3 separate regions of the Homo sapiens genome follow, and regions 1 and 2 are each linked to region 3. The links are contacts of gene promoters, found by promoter capture Hi-C in human tissues and cell types (Jung and others, 2019). All regions are on one chromosome and are shown on one strand. Each heading gives the region's core, a stretch centred on a gene start or on the middle of the fragment in contact. The rest is flanking DNA. Distances are from core to core; before and after follow the strand shown.

Evidence for each region. The method cuts DNA at HindIII sites, captures the fragments that hold promoters and counts their contacts. A contact is called where the count stands out against the background at its distance.
Region 1: a fragment that was not itself captured here is called in contact with the fragment with the promoter of TNS4 in region 3 in 1 of the 25 tissues and cell types used here (pancreas).
Region 2: a contact is called between a fragment that was not itself captured here and the fragment with the promoter of TNS4 in region 3, in 1 of the 25 tissues and cell types used here (bladder).

What each region holds. Positions count from the first base shown.
Region 1 is chr17:41,716,015-41,719,814 of GRCh38, forward strand. It overlaps a transcript of HAP1 not described here and the pseudogene RNA5SP442. Among named protein-coding and RNA genes, the nearest start is that of GAST, 5.6 kb to the left of the region's middle. RefSeq lists a silencer at 1,443-1,737. The HindIII fragment of the contact is 4,495 bases long and covers 1-3,800 here.
Region 2 is chr17:41,555,983-41,559,585 of GRCh38, forward strand. No RefSeq gene overlaps it. Among named protein-coding and RNA genes, the nearest start is that of LINC00974, 3.3 kb to the left of the region's middle. The HindIII fragment of the contact is 8,519 bases long and covers 1-3,603 here.
Region 3 is chr17:40,500,176-40,503,734 of GRCh38, forward strand. It overlaps TNS4 (tensin 4), which reads right to left and starts at 1,448. Exons shown (of 13, transcript NM_032865.6): 1 at 1,359-1,448. The HindIII fragment of the contact is 10,438 bases long and covers 1-3,559 here.

The DNA.
Region 1 (3,800 bases), core at 676-3,175, 1.2 Mb after region 3:
CTGGGGGTGAAGTTGTGGCAGGGAGAAGAGCTGAGTGCCTCTTAGGGGCAGGGACCCTGGCTGATTCTTCTTGGGTCCCCCAGAGCCCCACATTGAACGAGAATCCACAGGTATGGGCAGGATAATATATGGTAGGGTTCATAGCCAGAGTAACCTTTTTTTTTAATTTTTATTTTATTTTATTTTTGAGATGGAGTTTCGCTCTTGTCTCCCAGGCTGGAGTGCAATAATGAGACCTCAGCTCACTGCAACCTCTGCCTCCTAGGTTCAAGCGATTTTCCTGCCTCAGCCTCCCAAGTAGCTGGGATTACAGGTGCCCGCCACCACACCTGGCTAATTTTTTTGTATTTTTAGTGGGGACGGGGTTTCACCATGTTGGCCAGGCTGGTCTTGAACTCCTGACCTCAGGTGATCCACCCGCCTCGGCCTCCCAAAGTGCTGGGATTACAGGCATGAGCCACCGTGCCCAGCCTCAGAGTAAGCTTTTTAAAAGATAAACCGTGTCACACTCGGTTTTAACGTTGCAATGTTTCCCAGTGCACTTAGAATACAACCTGAACTCCCTGCCACAGCCCTGAAAGCTAGCCCTGAGGTTCTCCTCCCACTGTGCGCCAAGTGGCTTCCTTCTCTTTGTCCTCTCGGTCCTTTCCCTTACACAGACACGCCATGTTCTCTCTTGCTCAGAGCCTCCGACCTTGCCATTCCCTGTGCCTGCAACGCTCTTCCCCAGGCACAAATATGGTGGGCTCCCCTTTCCTCCTTAGCTCTTGGGTGAAATGCCTCTTCCTGAGAGACCTACCCTTTCTGCTCCTCACCCTTCACACATAGACCCAGTTATTCTCTACCACAGGGTCAAATAAAAGAGAAAAAATTAAGCTTTTTAAAGAATGAATGCTAGTTGTATTCAGAAGTCTTACAGAGGACTATAGATTGAGGCCTCCAGCCCAGGAGCAGGCTCTGGCACAATGTTTCAGCCCATTGCTTATATACATCTGGGGGCTAAAGGTGGAGGTTCCGTATGTGCAAAATCCCATCAGACTTGCTCAGAATTACATGACAGCAGAATCACAGCAAGATTTGGGTCCTAGATCACAGAGGCATCATCACTAACCTCGTCAGATGTCATCTTGGAAATGTTCTGTGTCAGAAAAGCCAGGGACTAGGATTATTTCTCTTTTAAGAAACGTGAAGACTCAAGCCGGGCGCAGTGGCTCACATCTGTAATCCCAGCACTTTGGGAGGCCGAGGAGGGTGGATCACTTTAGGTCAGGTGCTCGAGACCAGCCTGGCCAACAAGGTGAAACCCCGTCTCTACTAAAAATACAAAATTTAGCCAGGCATGTGCCTGTAGTCCTGGCTACTCGGGAGGCTGAGGCAGGAGAATTGCTTGAACCCGGGAGGCAGAGGTTGCAGTGAGCCAAGATTGCGCCATGACACTCCAGCCTGGGCAACAGAACAAGACTCTCTTTCAAAGAAAAAAAAAAAAGAAGAAGAAAAGAAAAGTAGTGACTCAGCCAAGAGACATGGGAGGGCCTCAGGCTCTCTCCTGTGCTGTCTTCAAAGCATCTTTCCGGAGGGCTGCACGTCTGTCTCTAGTCACAGAGTCAGGTGCTTTGTGAAACTGTGCCGACAAGCAGAAAGGAGCAAACACAGCTTCTTAATGTTTGTTGCTTTGTCTCACAATAGCAGAATATTTTCTTTAGAACACATTTCACAATCTGTAGTTGTTTTGTTTGCCAGTTTATTGTCTGCCTCTCGGGCAAAACAGGAAACTGGGAGCGTGACAAGTCCCTCCTCCCTTCTGTATCCCCGGTGGCAAGAATAGGAGGAACCCAATAAATATTTGTAAATAATTGCTCATGAGTGGCTGGTGCAGGCATTGCTGGTGTCTCACTCCATTCCATCATTGTTCTTGTGCCTGTTGACACCATTACCTTGAGCTACCCGCCACCTGAGGGCTGTAGAGGAGGGAAAGTGTTTTCTCTACCCATCTTAGGTCCTCGGCTGGGGCTCTGTTATAAAAGACAGATTACAAGAGAAAAGCAAACAAGTTTATTAACATGTGTATCACACATTTAACACACAGAGTACCCAGAGTTGAGTAACTCAGAGAGGTAGCTTAGAATTCAGGCTCACACTGTCTACGGCCATACCACCCTGAACGCGCCCGATCTTGTCTGATCTTGGAAACTAAGCACGGTGGGGCCTGGTTAGTACTCAGATGGGAGAATTCAGGCTCACAGAGCATCTTCAACAAAGAACAATACATTTGTAGGCAAGATAAAGGACAGCAATTTTTAGACTTCCAAGGGTGGCTAACTGTGTGTGGGAAACAGCTTTCTGCCCGTGGGAGCTGAGCCCTGTCCCCTCTCAGGGCTGGGTCTGGTAGCCAGTGGGCCTCCCCCGGCTTCTCCTGCCCCCCTGGGCTGCCATGTGACCCACATCCGGCAGTCACAGCTCTTGTGCCAGCTGCAGAACAAGGGCTGGGGTTCCTACCGCCTGTCCCAGAAGAGGGCTGAGGTCCAGGCCCCCAAGCTCCAGCCTAGGTTAGACTTCCAAGGGTGGCTAACTGTGCATGGGAAAGCAGCTATATGGAAAACGAATGGTAGATAAAGGCTAGTGAGTCAAGTTTGTTATTAGATTGCACTGGTGCCACTCCAGGCTGAAAGGGGTCTAAAGTTGTCTCCGACTTGTTCCAGACATTATGGAAGGAAAACGTCCTACGTAAATGAAATTGTCATTCTGTGTCCTCCCACCACAGCAGCAGATGTGTCCTTCCGTTGAGTGAGGGTAACCTTACGTCCACCAAGGATACTTGGAGAAAGTCTATGAGGAGCAAGCTTCAGTCCCACGGTTTCAGACTATTTATGCTCTGAACACAAGAGTACTGGTTAATTATGTTCTCAGCTCTCCTCGCTGTTCTAAGTGTGCACTTGTTGCAAGTAACTTATATTTTTTTATTTGAATGTATTTTATTTTTTTGAGACAGAGTCTTGCTCTGTCACCCAGGCTGGATTGCAGTAGTGCCATCTCAGCTCACTGCAACCTCCACCTCCCAGGTTCAAGCGATTCTCCTGCCTCAGCCTCTCAAGTAGCTGGGATTATAGGCAGGCACCACCATGCCAGGCTAATTTTTGTACTTTTTAGTAGAGGTGGGGTTTCACCATGTTGTCTAGGCTGGTCCTGAACTCCTGACCCCGTGATCCACCCGCCTCAGCCTCCCAAAGTGCTGGGATTCTCTAGGTGTGAGCCGCTGCACTCAGCCTGAATGTATTTTAAAGCAGTAGATAGAATAACAAAGGAATATGAAAACCATGGATTGAATGGACCATTTTATGTATTCAGAGAGACGAGCCACCATCATTGCCAGAAATACCATGTAAAAATTGGCAATTTGGCCAGCCGCAGTGGCTCACGTCTGTCATCCCAGCACTTTGGGAAGCCAAGGCAGGCGGATCACCTGAGGTCAGGAGTTCGAGACCAGCCTGACCAATACGGTGAAACACTGTCTCTACTAAAAATACAAAAATTAGCTGGGCATGGTGTTATGCATCTGTAATCCCAGCTACTCAGGAGGCTGAGACAGGAGAATTGCTTGAGCCCAGGAGGCAGAGGTTGCAGTGAGCTGAGATCACGCCATTGCACTCCAGCCTGGGAGACAGGGCGAGACTCTGTCTCAAAAAAAAAAAAGGCAATTTGGAGATTGCAGTATTTAGTAAACAAATAAATGATCAACATTGTGCAACCACTACCAAAAAGTGTATTGTAATGCATCAAAAATCAACATTTTATTCACTAAT
Region 2 (3,603 bases), core at 626-3,125, 1.1 Mb after region 3:
TCAAACCTGTTCCCTGCGAGTTCTTCCTGGAGAGTCTATGGCTTACCTAACATCCTTTAACAAACTGGCTTCAGAGTGTGGCTTCTGATCTTTGCAGGCAAAAACCCTGATGGCTACAGAATTTAGTAACAAGTGTGATTACTGGCATGAGACTTCTAAAAGATCTCCGTTTGGGTGTCCAAAAGACAATGTAAATTTAGCATGTCTGAAACTGACTCCCCATCTTTCATACCAGCCAACTTCCATCCCACAACTCCTATCATCCAGTTGCTCAGACAAAAGACTCAGAGACCTCCTTGACTTCTTTCTTTTACAATATGCAGTCCTTCAAGAACTCCTGGCAGTGCTTTCTTCAGATGATGCTCAGAATCCAGCCACCTCTGACCGTCTTCACTCTGAGTGCCAGGGGCTCTTCACCTCCCTGCACACTGGGCTCTCTGTTTCTGCTCCTAGCCTCGCAGCCTCTCATCAAGTGGCCTGTCACTCCTCTGCTCAAGGCACTGTGTGTTAGGATGATCATCAGCACTAGCTGCTGTGCCTGGAGTGGTCCCCACACACGCTTGACTGCCTCCCTCACTCCGTCAAGTTGATACAGAAGGGCTGGGCTCCTGGCTAAACCCTACCCTTAAGCCTGGAACCTCGGCCCTAAAGGACCCCATTTTCCCCAAAAATGTTACCTTTTTGGCCTGCCTGCCCACATGCTGTGCCCATAAAAGACTTCAGCTGGCAGAGCAACACAAGCGGCTGAGCACTGAGGATATAAGCAGCTGAGCGGCGAGCAGAAAAGCAACTGAGCATCGGAGACTGTGGATAGATCTGGCTAACTTCAGATGGTGCAGCTTTGGAGAGGGGCCCTGCCGGAGACGGTGGGGCTTCAGGGAAAGATCACCATCCCATCACCTTTCCATCCTCCCTTTCCACTGAGAGCCACCCAACACCCAGTAAAGTATTTTGCATTCGTCACCTTTCAAACAGTTTATGTGACCTGATTCTTCTTCCTGGACGCCAGACAAGAACCTGGGTGCCAAGAAGGCAGGGGCTGCCACCCTGAACCTCCATTGAACTGGTTGGTATTTGGCCATCCCCTGACAGCACAGCTGAAAGAATAGGGACGCTGCTGCAGGGCCCGAACAGAGCCTGCTCCTGCCAGAGAGGAGCAACCGGCTGGTTCCAGCGTTCATTTGCTCCGGTTCCCACACTTGCTCACACACTCACTCCCACAAGGAGTGGCCAGCAACAGGCTGAGTGAAACAAAGTGCTCCTTAGCTGGGCGTGATGGTGTGTGCCTGTAATCCCAACATAAGAAACCCCATCTCTACTAAAAATACAAAATTAGACGGGCTTGGTGGCCCGTGCCTGTAATCCCAGCGACTCGGGAGGCTGAGGCAGGAGAATCACTTGAACCCGGGAGACGGAGGTTGCAGTGACCTGAAATCTCACCACTGCACTCCAGCCTGGGCAACAGGGCGAGACTCAGTCTCAAAAAAAAACAAAACAAAAACAAAAAACAAAGTGCTCCAGTTCCCGCCCATGAAGGGCGTCAGGGCAACTATTCCATCGCAAAGTCATTGCTTATGTTTTACCTTCTCAGTGAACCCAACCTTGGCCATCCTATTTAACATTGCTCTCCTCCCCACCCTGCCATAGCACTCCAATCTCCCTTGATATTCCCTACTTCTTTGCGCACTTACCACCTTCAAGTATAGTATTATTTATTTCTTTATTACATTTGTTGCTCTTGCCCAACCCTTACCTATAATGCAAGCTCTATAGAGGCAGAAATCTTTGTCTCTTTTGTTCATTGATATATCCCAAGCACCTAGGACAGTGCCTGGCATAAAAGGAGCTTGATACATATTTATCCAGTGAAGTTTGTTGAATGAATGACATGAGAATCACTTTGGTTATCTGGCCTAGATGGGCCAGTGAAAATCTGGCTATGATTAAAATGAGCTTCTAGAAGCCCACAGCATGTGAATTAAATTGGAGTGGGCTTGTTTCTTTTAACTGTACTGAAGAGCTTAGAGAAGGAGTAATACACTTGAAGTTCTAAGTTCCTGATTCTGTAGACAGTCAGAGGACCAGGGACTGTCCACAATTATTCTTTAAAAATATCTCATTTCTTGTAGCTACAATGCTGAAGTAGTTAATAAACTCAAAATTGACTTCTCCAAGTTGAAATCACAACCTTGCCAAGTCTCTTATATAAAAGTTAGAGCACTGATCAGGAAAGAGGGACACCCACAGAATTGGAACAGGAAGGTATTAGAGAATTTAATAGACTCCAAACTCCAAATTATCTTCACACTCTACCCTACCACCCTTCATTGCTTTCAGAATTATAAATAAGCCAGATGCCAGCATACCTGGGGGAAGAGGCCAATTACAAAGACAAAGCTTAGAGAAAAAGATTTACACACCAGGAGAATTTCAAGCTGCTGCTAACCTGTATGAGCAGAAATGTGAAGACTGGGATTGGGAATGAATTTTTGAACCAGCTCAGTTAATGTGCAAGCATTCACCAGAGACTGGAAGTTCAGCTACTAGCTTAAATATCTGGAAGTGGATCAGAATGGTTGCTCAGTTGGATGACAGAAACTGAACTCAATAAAGGCTTATTTGAAATAAAGTTATTTCTAGAAAATCCTTTTTGTAATAAAGAAAAAGGAATCTGACTGCCTAGGGAGACAGGAATGTTGGGGTAGAATTATTGCGTGGAATCCATTCACTCATTCACCAACTGTGAGAGCCCAGAAGACACTGTGCAGACTCTGGCTTTTAAGAAATACGTGGATCGGGGGAACACAGCATCTTTGAAAAACACAGTTAACAGTTGTTCTCTGAGGATGTGGATGAAATATGCTGCAGTTGAATTAGGCCTCCTGATTTGAATGGAGATGACATCTCAGGTACAACACGGCAAAGGTGAAGAGCTGGACTAGGATAAAATCTGTAGGAGTCTGTGATGGTGGGTCTCTAGGACAAAAATACATGAGCAGACCACCAGTCAGGGTTCAGTTTTTTGGTTTTTGGTTTTTGGTTTTTGGTTTTTTGTTTTTGTTTTTTTTTTTGAGATGGAGTCTCACTCTGTCGCCCAGACTGGAGTGCAGGGGTGCAATCTCAGCTCACTGCAACCTCCGCGTCCCAGGTTCAAGCGATTCTCCTGCCTCAGCCTCCCGAGTAGCTGGGATTACAGGCACCCACCACCATGCCCAGCTAATTTTTGAATTTTTAGTAGAGATGGGGTTTCACCATGTTGACCAGCCTGGTCTCAAACTCCTGACCTCAGGTAATCTGCCCGCCTTGGCCTCCTAAAGTGTGGGAATCATGGACATGAGCCACCGTGCCCGGCTAGGGTTCAGCTTTAAGTAACAGAAACCAATCTCACTTTCTTAACAGAAATAAATTTAATACAAGGCATTAGGTGCTTGCAAAATCATTAGAAGGCTGAAGAAACAGACTCTATATTGGGCTTCTGGGCATGGCTTCCATATTAACACCACAGAAGTGGACCCCAAGGGAACTCTTGGTCTGCCACAATCAGAAAACTTGGGAATCAGGAAGCCACTACCAGACATGTTGGCCCCAGGACCATACAGTATA
Region 3 (3,559 bases), core at 198-2,697:
CTCTGCTGCTGCTTCACATATTTAAGAACCCTGTCCACCGCTGCCCCTTCTGGGATTCTGGAACCAAGAGGGACAGACCTGGAGCTGAGCAAAGGGCAGGCAGCCCCTACGCTCCTCTTCAGCCTCCCCTCACTTTTAAGGCTCTGCGTCGCCCTTGGATGTACCAAGGCAGGGCTCCATCTTACTCCTGTATTCCTGAATGCTGCCCCCTTCGCGGCCCCGCACACTCCTCTAACTTGCTCTTTCTTGCTGTAAGTGGTGGGGAGAGTCCCTGGGCCCGGGGCTCTGTGTGGTTGGGAGGCACGGGGCGGGGGCAAGGAGGGCTCCAGCCACCTCTGCTCTATTTGTAGGTGCCCCCTACCCGCTCCCACTTCTGATTCTGACTCAGATCTCTTTCTTTGTTCCCAAGGACTCTGGGGAGTCCTGGTGCCTTGGCAAATCCCCTCTTCCGTGTCATTGCCAACCTCTTCTCCTGACTTACTCTCTCCCAATGAGCCCAGGTCAGTGAAGGGAGAGGGTGGGGCAAGGGTAAAGCCTGAGTCTCCCCCAAAGCACTTTGCCTCATTAGCCCAATCTCCACTGCACCCCCTATTTTTGAAAACTGGCTCCCGATCTTCCCATCCCTCCCACCCAGACCCGGTGACGCAGGACGTGGACCTCAGGCAGGGACCCATAGGACCAGTGAAGGCCAGCCGCCCCATCTCCCAGTCCTGTCTACCTCTGAAGTGCCCAGAGGGCTCCCAGAGCGCTGGGAGGCGAGAGGCCTGGGTTCTGTGTCCAGTCCCTTTCCATGACCTCAGGCAAGCCTCTTCTCTGTGGCCCTCAGCTCTCTCATCTATTTGCCGAGGGGCACAGGTTTAGTTCCCTTGAACTGCTGAACTCCGCGGTCTGTGATCCTGAGACCATCTCTGTCTCATCCACATCCTCCACCCCATTTCTCCCCACCTTCACTCTGAGCCCTGAGAAATGGAGAAGCTGAAGACAAAAGGTTAAATGAGGCTGGGCTCACGCCTGTAATTCCAGCACTTTGGGAGGCTAAGGTGGGAGGATCACCTGAGGTCAGGAGTTTGAGACCAGCCTGGCCAACATGGTGAAACCGCGTCTCTACTAAACATAAGAAAATTAGCCGGGCATGGTGGCAAACATCTGTAATCCCTGTTACTTGGGAGGCTGAGGCAGGAGAATCGCTTGAACCCTGGAGGCAGACGTTGGCAGTGAGCCGAGATCGCGCCACTGCACTCCAGCTTGGGTGACAGAGCAAGACTCCATCTCAAAAAAAAAAAAAAAAATGTTTAAATGAATCAGGGCCAGCAAAGGTGCTCCGTGTTCCTCTCTTCTTAAAGAATAAAGGCACCTACCTGGTGTCCACAGGTGGGCAGACTGTTGCCTTCACTACTGGCTCCTGGGACCAAGACGACTCAGAGTCCAGGTGAAGAGTCAGGAGAGGCGCCAGTTCACCTCCAGACCTGCCTTAAAAGCAGCTTGCCCGCCTTCTCTCCTCCCCTCCGGGCGGGCCCTGCACGTGGCCCTGACAGCAGTAGGCCCCACCCCTGCTGGATCCAGTGAGCTCAGGTGGGGCTGGCACAGGCAGCAGGAAGGGAAGCACTGGGTGGTGGGTTTTGGGTCTGGGTGTGTGTGAGGGGCTCCCAAGTTCCTGCTTGGGCTTCTCGTGGCACCACATGGCCAGGGAGTCCTTGCTTGGACAGGGCATAGCTAGAATCAAGGTGTGCAGTGGGCACTCCTCAGGTGCTGGCTGGGGCAGAGGCCATGGGTTGGCAGAGCTGGCAGAGAGTGAGGGCCTTGACAAAGCAGGATGCCAGTGGGCAGGAGACCCTCTGCAGTCCCCCTTTGTGCTGGGTCACACTGGGACAGGCACAGGGTAAGGGCCCACTGGAAGTAAGGCTAGGCACGAGCTTGTCTTTTCTTCTTTCTCTCCTTTTACAGTAATGACTCTAGCTTGGGATGGGGCCTCTAACTCAAGGAAAGGAGGCTGAAGTGTCTGGAGGGCTTTGAGAAGGGGCTTATAGCTGTTCCTTCACTCATGGGCTATCTCTGTCCCTCGTCTGGTCTGTGCCCCAGGGTGGAAGTTCCCTGAGGGGAGGACATTGGAGGGTGAGATCAGGAAGCCCAGAAGTCTGGTCTGGTAGCTCCTTCTCCATGGTTCCAACTCTCTCCCTGTTCTAGAGGGGCAGGGGTCCTAGAATGTTGTAAGGAGGTGTTCAGACATGGTGAGGGGAGGGTGCTGATGGCAGAGCCTGGTCTGGGAGCGGTCTGAAGTGAGGGAGCTGGCGAAGTCTCCAGCCCAGGGACTCATGGTGATCCCAGTAGGCTAATCTCAGGGGTGGGTTGCCCCATGCCCCCATTATGCCCAGTGGAAGGGCTTCTGGCCTTACAGTTTTTGATGCCCTGGGGTTTCACTGAGGCATGGTGAACTAGTGCATGGGAGGCCGGTGAGCAAAGCTATGGAAAGTTATATAAGGTGCCCCTTCCTGATGGTGACATAAAAGGTGTCCCTAGGTGTCCATGCAGCCTTGTTGGCACATGGCTTGATGAGCAATTATGTCTTTGGATGAAAAATGTGGTGCTCCTGCCCTGGAGTGGATGTCACTGCACATGGCGGCTTCCCCCATGAGGCTGTGGCTCATGATTGTGGGAGAGTGGGAGGGGCGACTCGTGAGTTTCTTGAGTGGAAGGGGCAGGTTACAGTAGGGCGAAGTGTTGGGCAGAGACTGTGGCAACTCCGGGGTAACCCTGGCCATCTCCCCTGGGGCTGGTATGGATAGCCTCTGCAGTGGTTCTTCAGGGCCAGGGGGTCCTCCAGCCTTACAGACCCATACCTGGGGGTTATGGTCTTTCTTGGCAGATTGGCTCTTTTGTTTCACACCCAGCTGCTTCCTTTAGCTTAAGATGGTCTCAGAACAGTGATTTCAGCCCCAGCTGCCTCACAAACCCTGCCCAACACCACATCACTGCCCTTTGCCGTGATCATCAAGGGATGGATGGAGTGGCATTTCTTTATACATCTATAGATATGACATTTTTTCTTTAGCCTATGGATGTGATAGATTACATTAATTTACTTTTGAATTTTGAACCCTCCTTGCATACCTGGGATGAACCCCCTGGTCATGGTATATAATTCTTTTTTTTTTTGTGATGGGGTCTTGCTATGTTGCCCAGGCTGGTCTCAACCTCCCGGACTCAAGTGATCTTCCCACTTCAGACTTTGGAGTAGCTGGGATTACAGACATGTACCACTATGCCTGGGTCTGTATAATTCTTCTAATACATTGTTGGGTTCAATTTGCTAACATTTTGTGGAGGATTTTTGCATCTATGTTCATGAGTGATATTGGTGTCTAGTTTTCTTTTGTATCTCTGGTTTCAGCAATGCTGGCCTCATAAAATGAGTTGGGAAGTGTTCCTTCTGCTTCTATCTTCTGAAAGAGGTTGTAGAGAAGTGGTCCTATTTCTTCCTCAAATGTTTGGTAGATTTCACCAGTAAAACTGTCTGGTCCTGGTGCTTTCTGTTTTGGAAGGTTATTAATTATTAATTCAA